Regions from separate parts of the Homo sapiens genome. Here region 2 is linked to region 1. The links are contacts of gene promoters, found by promoter capture Hi-C in blood cells and fetal thymus (Javierre and others, 2016). All regions are on one chromosome and are shown on one strand. Each heading gives the region's core, a stretch centred on a gene start or on the middle of the fragment in contact. The rest is flanking DNA. Distances are from core to core; before and after follow the strand shown.

What was found. Contacts are between HindIII fragments. The CHiCAGO score rates a contact against its expected background, and 5 or more counts as called.
Region 2: a contact is called between a fragment that was not itself captured here and the fragment with the promoter of GTF2A2 in region 1, in 1 of 17 cell types (naive B cells). The highest score is 5.2, in naive B cells.

What each region holds. Positions count from the first base shown.
Region 1 is chr15:59,654,496-59,660,482 of GRCh38, forward strand. It overlaps GTF2A2 (general transcription factor IIA subunit 2), which reads right to left and starts at 3,020. Exons shown (of 5, transcript NM_004492.3): 1 at 2,911-3,020. BNIP2 (BCL2 interacting protein 2) reads right to left here. Exons shown (of 10, transcript NM_004330.4): 10 at 4,651-5,987. RefSeq lists an enhancer at 2,827-3,056. The HindIII fragment of the contact is 4,994 bases long and covers 2,025-5,987 here.
Region 2 is chr15:59,236,361-59,242,691 of GRCh38, forward strand. It overlaps MYO1E (myosin IE), which reads right to left. Exons shown (of 28, transcript NM_004998.4): 5 at 225-312. Among named protein-coding and RNA genes, the nearest start is that of LDHAL6B, 33 kb to the left of the region's middle. The HindIII fragment of the contact is 1,055 bases long and covers 938-1,992 here.

The DNA.
Region 1 (5,987 bases), core at 1,770-4,269:
TATTTTCATTCATACCAATAACTGAAGCTAACATATATATGCTTATTCTGTCTCCATCTACTAAAATAGATGACACACTGAAGACAGGGACTTCTGTTCATTTACATATTTACCAACTAGAACAACGTATGTAGTATCTATTAAGTATCTGTTGAGTGAAATACTTGGTAGTATGTTAAAGTGCTAATATATTAGAAATGTATCTGAGTATGACACAAAGTATTACACTTCACTGAGGAAACTGCAGCAATAACTTCCAGACTCACAGCCACATCCAGCTACCTACCAATAGCTATACAGGTTGAACATTCCTTATCTGAAATGCTTGGGACCTGAAGTCTTTTGGATTTTAGAATATCTGCATCGTATATACTTAGTGATTGAGTACCCCAAATTCAAGCTCTGAAATGCTCCAAAGAGCATTTCCTTTCAGTGTCATGTTGGTGCTCAAAGTTTTGGATTTTGGAGCATTTTGAATTTGGGATGCCCAACCTGTACCCATATACTCTCCCTCCCTGTCACTATAGTTGAACTCTATACCTATTTTTATCTAAATCCAATCCTTCTACCTTTGTATCAGGCATTGTCTTCTAATTCACTCAAGGATATTGTTCTGACAATTCAGTTGTTACTTCTCTCCCTCACCATCAAATTTTCCCTCTCTGCGGATCATTTCCATTAGCAAACACATAGGTGGCTACTTCTCCCACCTTAAAAAGTAAAACAAAACAAAAACCCCTCAACCCAAATCCCCTGCCAGCTACATCCTATTTCTCAGTTCCCCTTTGCAGCAAAATCCCTTAGTTTTGTCTGTATTCACTGTCTCCCAATTCCTTTTTTCCTATTTTCTCTTAAGCTAATTTTTGCCTCTAGCACTCTAAGGAAACAGGTTGGTGAAGGTCATCAATGGCAATGCTAAAGCTAATTCTCTAGCCTCACTCAGAATATTGGACACAGCTGATTACTCCCTCCTCTTTCGTACAGGATCTTACCTTGGCTTCTGGGACACTGCCCTTTTCGGATTGTCCTAACTCACAAGTTCATCCTTCTTAATACTGTTTGCTGGTTGATCCCGTTTTCGCTAAACTCTTAATATCACAGGACACAGTCCTTAGGCCTCTGCTGCTTTCCGTCTACACCCATTCCTTACGGATAACATTTATTCTCATGGTTTAAGTACCACTGCTGATGATCCCCAAATTCATATAGCATAGAACTTCTCACTCCTGAATCTAGCTGCCTACTCAACATCTCTATTTGTTATCTTTTGCATCGTGGCTTAAAGAACTCCATACTTCTACGAGCTTGGGCAAAACCTTTGATTTCATCCTCCACTCCCTCTATCTCACTCTCCATATCCAATTCCTAGCAAATACTGTAAGGCCTACCTTCAAAATGCATTCAGAATCCAACCACTTCTCACCATCCCTACGGTTATCACCCTGACCTGGGCCACTCTCGTCATCTGGATTACTGCAAAAATCTCCTAAATGATTTCCCTGCTTCTACACTCACCCCTACACTCTAATCACAACTCACAGCCAGGGTGATCTTCTAAAACTTCAGTTACAACATACCTCTCCTCTATTCAAAATCTCCCATGGCTTCTATCAGCCTTTACAATGATCCGGCTACCATGATCTCTTTGACTTTATCTTCTTGTCCCTCCACCCCCAAAACTCTTGCTCATCCCTCTCCAGATACACTGGCTTCCTTGCTATTCCTCAAACATGACAGGCCTAAAAGCATTTGTATTGGCTTTCCTATCTGCCTGAATGCTCTTCCTGATATTTACTTAGCAAATTTTCTTAATTCCTTCAAGTCTTTGCTCAAATAACACCTACTAAATGAGGCTCAAACTGACCACCGTCATCTTTAAAATACCAGTTCCCACCTCCACTCTGGAACTTTCCCGTACTCCTTTATATTTCTCTTTTTTTTTTTGATGGCACCATCACTTTCTAACACCATTATATATTTTATTTTCTGCATCCTCTAATAGAATGTAAGCTCCATGAGGGCAAAGCTTTTTATTTTGTTCACTTAAGTAAAATAGGCGTCTAGAACAGTACCTGGCACACAATAGGAGCCAAAAAAAAATCTGTTCAGTAAACGAAGGCAAATATCAGTAAGTATAATATGCGTGTGGGAGGGGAGAGGGGGTTAAAAAGGGCAAGAAGTCCCAATAGGTAGATAAAAACTCCACAGAGTAGGAATACAGAATCGTGCATCGTGTCCCATTTGACAAATTTTTGAGTTTATCTAGAAAATAGCCCTGCGTTAAACGTTTGTTAAAAGTGCTGATTTCAATGTTCTTACATTCTTTAAAAATTCCTTGTTAAGTGTTCTAATCTTTTAGATGTGGTATCAGCCACAGAAATTTATTGTTCCCTTCTTGTTTTGCAGTTCAGAAAATTAGAAGTCAAATTCGGAAGTAACTCGTCCTAGCATTTTTTGATTAAACCACCAAGTTTAAAATTCGTTCCTTTTGTCGGAGTTCGCACGAAGAAAGTTGGAAGGCAGACTTCAAACAACAAGCTACAAAGCACAGGAATGAGACATTTAAAAAATGCTCTCCGAAATTCGGCAAAACTCACAGGGCGCTAGTGGATGCTTTAAGACATTCACCTGGCTGAAAATACGGTGGTGGGCTGAAGACCTCCCCTAGGTGGGTTCTGTGGGCGCCCCGTGAACGACGAGCCTCCCGCCACGGGACGCGACCATCACCGCCGCCTCGCCGCCCTTCTCCGGTGCCGGCCGCGGGGCCTTGCCGGCAACGGTCGGTAACGGGCAGATCCCAGGAGCGAAGGGCCCTCAGAGACTACCCCACCAACGCACTCCGACTCCGGGGGGGCGGCAGGGAGCGCGGCCCTGCTTCCCTCCCTAACCCTGCCCTCCCTAACCCACTACCTGTGGGGAAGGCGCTTCCCTCCGCGGAGCGGACAGAAGCCGCCACGAGCCCGGCAGGAGGTTCCTACTTCTCCGACCACCTCTCCAGCCGCCGCAGAAACCGCAGAACTGAGCTGACGACCCGGAAGTGCTCGCGGAACCTGGAAGTGACACCCCGCCCGAGGGACGGGAGGCCCCGCCCAGCCCTGCTCTCGCCCGCCACTCAAGCCTTGTCAGGGAAGGGCGTGGAGAGGGAAGGAGGGGCGTCGGGCTGGAGCTTGAAGCCTTAAAGTGGTGGACAGGCGCTCTGCTCGAGTAATTCACCAGGTTTACTAAATCGTTCCTAAGGGAATTATAATTTTTAGAGACTAATCTTCTCCATTGTTAGATGCACAATTTAAGAAATGTAGGGCATTCATATTTCATGCCGGAAGTGTGTTCAGGGTAACAGTGTTGAAGACCTTGCAGACGAATTCTGAAAAGATTATAGCAGGGGCCGGGCGCGGTGGCGCACGCCTTAATCCCAGCACTTTGGGAGGCTGAGGCGGGTCGATCACCGGAGGTCAGGAGTTCGCGACCAGCATAATATGGTGAAATCCTGTCTCTACTAAATACAAAAAATTAGGCAGGCGTGGTGGCGCATGCCTGTAATTCGAGCTACTTGGGAGGCTGAGACAGGAGAATGGCTTGTACCTGGGAGGCGGAGGTTGCAGTCAGCTGAGATCGCGCCATTGCACTCCAGCCTGGGAAACAAGAGCGAAACTCCGTCTCAAAAAAAAAAAAAAAAAAAAAAATTATAGCAGGGTAAGCAGGGTATCTTCTTTACCCCTCGAAACAGGGCTGCAGGCAAAGTTTTTAGTTTGTGACCAGTTCATGAAGAACTTTAATTTGGGAGAAGTTATATTTAAAATTTGCATCTAATATGCAAGATAAATACTTCACTATAAATTTCAAGTTTGCAAAATCACAAATTGTTTTAGGTGTCAGGGTGCATGGTACACTAACTGGCTTAAACCCAGCAGTCATGTGTAGAGCAGTTTATCCTACAAAATAGCTGAATAGTGATTAAAGAGTATGTGCAAAACAACAACAACAAAACCACAAAAAACACCAAGTGGTATCAGCTGGAACCTCTGAGCAGGTCTATGAACTAAACAAGTTCTTCTTATTTAAGCCATGTTTTCGGCCAGGGGCGGTGGCTCATGCCTGTAATCCCAGCACTTTGGGAGGCCGAGGTGAGCGAATCACCTGAGGTCAGGAATTCGAGACCAGCCTCAACGTGGAGAAACCCCGTCTCTACTAAAATACAAAAAAAATTTCGCTGGGCGTGTTGGTGCATGCCTGTAATCCCAGCTACTCGGGAGGCGGAGGCAGGAGAATTGCTTGAACCTGGGAGGCGGAGGTTGCGGTGAGCCAAGATGGCGCCATTGCACTCCAGCCTGGGCAACAAGAGCGAAACTGTCTCAAAAAAAAAAAAAAAAAAAAAAAGCCATGTTTTCATTTTAAGCCACTCATGGTTTCATCCTTGGATTCCCCATTAATTAAAAAAAAATCTCAACTATGAAACACAAAGTTTCATTATTGTTTTGATGTTAAAATAAAGCAGGCTGAACTCTCTAATCCCCAAAGAATAGAAGCACTTAGACTATAGAAAGGGAAACAAGTGTAAAGGTCTGAAATTATTTAAGAGGTTTATAGGATAATTCAAAGCAAAAATTTAGTAGCATAATGAAAGAAAAATGTGATAAAAAGACAAAGACGAACGTTCCAATTAATTTATTTAAATTCATTAATGTTGCAAAAAATATGATGTGCAACAAATCAAGACACAAGTTATATTCCTAACAGGTCAAAGAAAATATTACATCTCCTTAGTAAATCATGACCAACTCTGGTATTTCTTACAGGGACCACATTAATATCTTGCACACACAGACATCAGAACTGAATTTCTGACAGTACTCGGCTGGGCAACATCATCTTAAGAGTAGGAAAATATCACAGTACATTAATTTTGTCTAAATGACAGCAATGAACCTGTGGTAACAAAAGTATTTTTGGAATAGATATCAAAGTGTGTTAATGTCTTAACAAACTCTGAATTGTGTTCTGTGTGAATAGTGCTCCAAGGGCTGTGCAAGTCAGTGGCCCTGAACATCATCAATATTTACTAGCTAGGTTTACACAAATAAACAAGCAACTGTTAAACGGACATTAAACTTTACAAAGTCCACATACAAAAAGTGCAGTGTAGAAGCTGATGAATGTTATTTTCCAAGTTCCTCCTTAGCCAAACTGCATAAAAATTTCAAAATGCAAATATTTTAACTTCTTGTTAAACATGATTCTAAGACATCCTACAAGCCTAGTATCATTAATTTGAAAGCACGAAATGATTTTCATTTGGTGCTTACGTGCTTTATGTGAATTTTTCATAGCATTTTACTTAGTTCTCAAAACATAAATAGGTCTATTATAAATAGTTGCAACATACTGTTATATTCAAATTTTAGTGTCACTCCTTACTGTTAAACATGCCAGACTACTTTATTTTCAATTATCCTTTAGAACTTCAAAGGAAAGTTACATAACTGGGTCTCACCATTGATCTGATTCTAAGTTCATTCAGAATTTCAAGAAGGGCAGAGGGGGATGCTTGCCAGGTAATTCTTTTGTATTAGCTTAGAACATTTGAGTAGATAATACCCCACTTCCCTCACCAGTTGGCCTTCCCATTCAAGTCTAAGTTCTTGACTCTTTCTCGCAGCAACTCAAACTACACAATTCCTATGACCTATAACAAGACCAGACCTATTTTAACAGCAAAATAGGTCTAACTTGTGAGTACATACATTAATGCCTCTTTTTACTCTATCCCTCTCAGATTTGTGGTCCATTTCTCAAATGTCCATATAGGATTGGAGAAAAAACAGGCATGAAAACAAAATAGAATGGTGTAGCAATCTCTATTTTCAGCCTATCTCCTACTCCCATTTGCTTGAGCAAGTTTAACACTTCTCCACATATAACATGGAAAAAGGAAGGATGAACCTACCGTAACATCTCTACCAATCTCATCAGGAAACTGGCCTGTTCTA
Region 2 (6,331 bases), core at 215-2,714, 420 kb before region 1:
AAAATATATACACACACACACACACACACACACACACACACACACACACACACACACACAAACACACATACATATGCTATTCCTTTCCATTCCAGATTTCAAGTTTCACAGTTATAGAAGAACCAGTGTCTTTTCTGTGGAAGAAAAATTCTTTTCTAACAGCAAATGGAGCCTCTTACATTTCCCATAACATAAGGTATCATAATGGGCCACTGCCCACTCACCTGGACTTTGGTCCCTCCTCCAGACACTCTGGAGATGTAGCTCATGATATATTTGGCAGCCACTGTTTTTCCAGCACCACTTTCACCACTAAAGAAAGACAGACAAAGAATCCACCTGAGAAGTGGATTGCGACCAGCTCCCTTCCTTGTCTCCCCCATCACACAAAACAAACAAACAAACAAAAAAACAAAAAAAACAGGCAGAAAAGAATTTTTTTTTTTAAGTACAATACCAGTAGAGAAAGGCAAGTTACAGCAGGATTAGGTCGCCCATGTGACCCGTGTGAGCCGGATTAACATGGTGTGGATAATTACCACTGTGCACACCACTGACCATTAAGCATTTTACATGCCCAATAATGGGGGATATGATTAGGAAAATTATGGAGTATCACAAGGGTGGAATTCTACATAAATTACAACTGACATGAAGACTGTAAACACAGGAAACAAGCAAATGAAATCATGTTAAGTGAAATAAGTCATTCAAGTTATATACAAAACATGATTACAATTTTTTTTTCTTAAAAAAAAGACTGGAACTACCACAAAATATTAACAAAGGCTTTGGTCAAGCCAGAGACTAGAGAAACTTGTTTTAATTCATTAGTTTTCAAACATTTTATAATGCATATGCTATTTTTGTAATTTAAAAAAAGAAAAGAAAAAGTGGGCACTCTGAGGTTTCAAACCATGTGCCTTGAATTGATGCAAGCTTCCTTATTTTAGAAGTTCTAAAATTAAACCTTGAAGCAATATTAATCACATCCGGAGTAACAAAGGCCACCTTCCGCTGGGTAGCCTTCCTGCATGGGGAGAGCCTTTTGTTAATAATATATAGTCTGCTCTTCAAAATCCCCATTCTTCCTACAAAATCCCCCTGAATTGATAATGACCTCAATTCAAAACATGCTTAAGTCAGTCAGATTTTTCATCTTTCTATTGGTACCCTTTGTGTTACCAGGATAGAATTAAAGAACCCCATATCATATAAAATGATGGTGGGAGTTAGTATGAAAAATGCAGACTGCTACAAGTTCATAGGACAATATTTTTGTTCGCGCTTCGCGATAAAAAATTTTAGGGCGCAGAGCAAATGTTCTTCTATGAATATCCAGCCCAAATTAATTGTTATCGATTGCTGAGTTACTCAAGGAAAGAGAAAACATTTGCTTGGGGAACAACCAAGCAAGGTGACACTCCTATTCCCAAAAGGAAACTGAAATTTGAAATAATTTTACATTTCAAAACAAAACAAAAGAAACAAATGAACAGAGAATTGAGCTGGCCATATAGCGAAACTCAGAACTTTGCTGAATTTCCTTGAACTAATAATACGGTTTTAAAGAAATTATGGGGAGGCGGGAACCATCCTCTGTTCAGAGCTCATGACCTGCAAAAGTCTGAACCCACCTATGCAAGTCACTCACCATCCTAGTGCTATGCTCCTGGCTTCCTGGTCACATGAATAAGAAAACCAAACTGAAATTTCGTAAGCTACAGTAGCAAGTAGAAAACCAGCAAGCCTGGGACGAGGTGTCACACTCTTCCAGAGGACATGCTTACTCACAGGCAGCAACTAGGTCGGGCAAATTCAACTCCATGGGGAAATTATCTTTTCAAATGGTTGACATACTCAGATGATGTATTTACTAGATCCAGGGTCAACACACACACTCTCTCATTGGAATTACACGGTTTGGCAACAATGAAACTCCATTTTAGAAGTTGTAAACAATGTAAACATTCAAGAATATTGGAAAGTCCAAGCTTACAATGGCACAACCACCCAATATAATACTGCACAGGCATTTGAAGTACTTACAAAGAGTATGTAGCAACATAAAGATAATGCAGCCTAAGTTAAGTGGTAATGTGAATAGAAGATACTATATTTATAACAAGTTTACAACTATGTGAAAATAATGTATGGGCAAAAACAAATTGACAAGGAAAAAGAAATATTCCTTACTTGTTAGGAGGCTGGTATAGGAATGGTTTTTTTGAAATGGAGTCTCACTTTGTCACCCAGGCTGGAGTGCAGTGGCACAATCTTGGCTCACTGCAATCTCTACCTCCTAGGTTCAAATGATTCTCCTGCCTCAGCCTCCCAAGTATCTGGGATTACAGGTGTGCACCACCATGCCTAGCTAATTTTTTAATTTTTAGTAGAGACGGGGTTTCACCATGTTAGCCAGACTGGTCCCAACTCCTGACCCCAGGTGATCCGCCTGCCTTGGCCTCCCAAAGTGCTGGGATTACAGGTGTGAGCCACGACACCTGGCTCTTTTTCCTTTTCATGTGCTTTCTCATAATTTTCTATTTTTTTTAGATTTTTATGCCGGGTACAATGGCTCGTGCCTGTAATCCTAGCACTTTGGGAGGCCAAGGTGGACGGATCATTTGAGGTCAGGAGTTCGAGACCAGCCTGGCCAACATGGTGAATCCCCGTCTCTACTAAAAATACAAAAACTAGCTGGGCGTGATGGCAGGTGCCTGTAATCCCAGCTACTCAGGAGGCTGAGGCAGGAGAATCTCTTGAACCCGGGAGGCAGAGGTTGCATTGAGCCAAGATTGTGCCACTGCACTCCATCCTGGGCAACAAGAATGAAACTGTGTCAAAAAATATATATATATATATTTTTTTTATTTTTTAAAATTTGTGTATTTCAGATTTTTTAAAACAGCTTTTCCAGAGAAAAGGGAGGGATCACACCTCACAATAATCACCACTGATCAATTTCATTACATTATTATTATTCAACTTCCTACATATCACCATAAGTATGTATATTTTCCTTAAGTTTACACTGTCACATTTAAACTTTACTAGAACAAGCTGGGAAAGAGAGAGAGAGCAAGCGTGAGCAAACCCTATAAGAATTATAAAATAATATATATAAAGGGGAATTTATTAAATTTAAAAAAGAATTATAAAAGGACAGTAATCCCAGTAATCCTCCCACTGTGTCTTTGGTTAATACTGTATTCAGACATGAAATATTTTGTCTCTTTTGTTGGAAACAAAAGCAAGTAATAATAATGGAAAGTAGCTCTTTTAATATATCAAAATAAGTATACCAGTTCCAAAAATAGGATATCTGCATTCTCAGCAACTATGATCTTTTCCAGCAGACTTAAAATAATTAGTTCTCACTAAACATTGATCGGAATTTTCATTACTTGGTTTCAATTTACAGACACTTAAGAAGAATTTTTATTGATCAGAGGCTGGTGAGTTGGTCAAAATATGGTACAATAATGGAATGTTACAGAATGACTTGAAACCTACAGTATATGCAACCATAATTATGCTGGCCTGTTTGGGATGAGAACATATTGTTTCTTCTCCGGCACTAAAACCCAAGTTAAAAGAAAGTGAAGGTCTTAGACAAAATAATATATCCCAAATTATTTACTTTGCATCTCACAGCAGTTATTGTACAGCAATTTGCTTTGTTTACGCTTCCAGGCAGCCCGTCCTAATTTAATTGACTTATAAAATGGACACACACACACAAATACTCTAGAAATTAGGAAAATATCCCAGTGGTTCCCAAATCTGGCAGTCTATCAGAATCGTCAGAGTACTTTTTAATTGCCCATGTCTGGGCCCGTCTTCTGACCTGCTGGATCCCAGTCTCCAGGGACAGAGTCTAGGAATAGGAATTTCTAACAAACTCCCTAGTTCTTGTATAGCCAGCTGGGAACAAGCCAAGCAATTTTAAATCAAAGTCATAACAGACTTTATAGGAAATATTAATTCAAATAGGAAGTATTGTAGAGTGTGTGTCTGTGTGTGGGGGGGGTCTGTGTACTAACTATAGAAATGGAAACATACGGTAAAATATCAACGAAATGGAAAGAATGTTCTGGGGAAAAAAAGCCATTTACAATGGTATAATCCAAGGACCATAATTATTTTTCTGAGAAAGGTTATTCCTCACTTAAAAGTCAATAGTATTTTCTATTCACTTCAACTTATTCAGCAAATGTAAAAATATTTCAGTTCTTTTTTATTTTGATTTTTTGAGATATTCCCTAAAATAAGTAGGATCCGCTGTTACCACTGTTGGACGACTCACCAATGCACCCCCATCCCCCATTTCTGATCTAAAAATCTCTCTCCTGGCTCTGTACCACAGGAACTGGTGTTCCCTTGTAACTGGCTGAATCAACGTAATTGAAATATCACTTTTCCAACTTTTTGTTTGTGGTTTAAAAAGGACAAACACTTAAAACAAAAATGATGTCTACTTTTGTTCATGCAACACACACTGTCTAACAACCCCCTCTGCCCCAGTGTGTTAAGCCGAAGGCCAGAATGAGATGTGGCTCCTGTCAGAGAAGAGCTCACTCACTGTCTTACAGGGAAGTCGAGTATACAAAGGCTATTAATAACACAGTGGAGATGTGGGTATGGCTTTAGGGATTTGGGGGTGGCAGCTATCCCTGATCAGAAGATTACTAAACGAAGTCACAACTAGTTACATCTCAATAAGGACAATCAAATCAGCCAGGTGTGTTGCGTGTGTGTATGTGTACTTGTGTGTATACATGTCAGGGGCTGGGATGAAGCCTGAGCCATACATAAGAGGCAAAAATTCTGTGGGGTACACATGAAGGGAACCATGGGTAGTTAAACAGGACTTGAGGAGACAGTGGCTCACACCTGTAATCTCAGCAATGTGGGAGGCCACGGGAGTTGGAGAACCAGCCTTAGCAAACAGCAAGATCTCGTTTCTTAAAAAGAACAAAAACAAAACCCCAAAACACAAAAGAAACAACAACTATAATAATAAAACAAATAAAAATAAAAACAATTGGCTGGGTGCAGTGGCTCACGCCTATAATCCCAGCACTTTGGGAGGCCAAGGCGGGTGGATCACCTTAAGTCAGGAGTTCAAGAGCAGCAAGAGCAGCCTGGCCGACATGGTAAAACCCCGTCTCTACTAAAAACACAAAAAAATTAGCCAGGTGTGGTGGCATGCGCCTGTAGTCCCAGCTGCTCAAGAGATCCGAGGCAGGAGAATCACTTGAACCTAGGGGACAGAGGTTGCAGTGAGCTGAGACTGCACGACTGCACTCCAGCCTCGGTGACAGAGCAAGACTCCATCTCAAAAATAAATAGATAAATAAATAAAAATAAAAATAAAAATTTTTAAATAAAAACAATTAAAAATAATTAGCTGGGTGTGGTAGTGTGCTCCTGTGGTCCTAGTTACTTTGGAGGCTGAGGTGGGAGGATTGTTTGAGTCCAGGAGGTTGAGGCTGCAGTGAGCTATTGTTGAGCTACTGCACTCCAGCCTGGGTAACAAAGTGAGATCCTGTCTCTAAAAAATAAAATAAAATAAAATAAAATAAACAAGTAAATAAATAATAGGCCTTGACTGTGATGTGGGAAGCTGGGAGGGGTAGGGAGTGGAGCTGGAAGGCAGTGCAGAGATCCAAGACAGTGACCTTGGGTTCAGGTTTGGGGATGCACCAAGGGTTCTGGCCTGTGCCATTTCGTGCTACATTTTATATAGACTCTAGACTTCCATTTTCTCAAGGCAGCATACCGACAAACTTGCCTTTACCTATACAGAACAACTGATATATTATTTACTTAGTTTTCAAAATTGACACACTTTTTGTTGGTCTCTGAATACTATTCTTCAATAAAAAGAACAAGGGCTGCTTTGGGAAATGACCAATGCCAGGGCTGGAGTGGGGAAAATTCAAACTGGGCGTGGAACATATAACTGTGCCAAAAGGTAAGGAAATGTACAGTGACTGGTGTGGACGTGTCAAGCATATAAGAGCCAGCTGGAAGGGGTTCCCACTGGCCAAATCAAAATAAGTAATGATAATAATGGATTACGATCCTTTGAATAAAATAGGAAGCCATAATTCCATAGTGCCATACGAAAGTAAACGAGTCAATCAGTAAATAGGAGAGAAAGGAAAGCTCTTCCTCACAGTGGAATACCAACTAATAAATGTGGAAGGAATGATGGAAACAGATATATCACCATTTGGCAGCCATCATACAGGTGTCCAGGAGTCATTAATGGATGCTAAGGCTGGTAGGTGGAGGTTTGGATGTGGAGAAGGATGTTGTCATG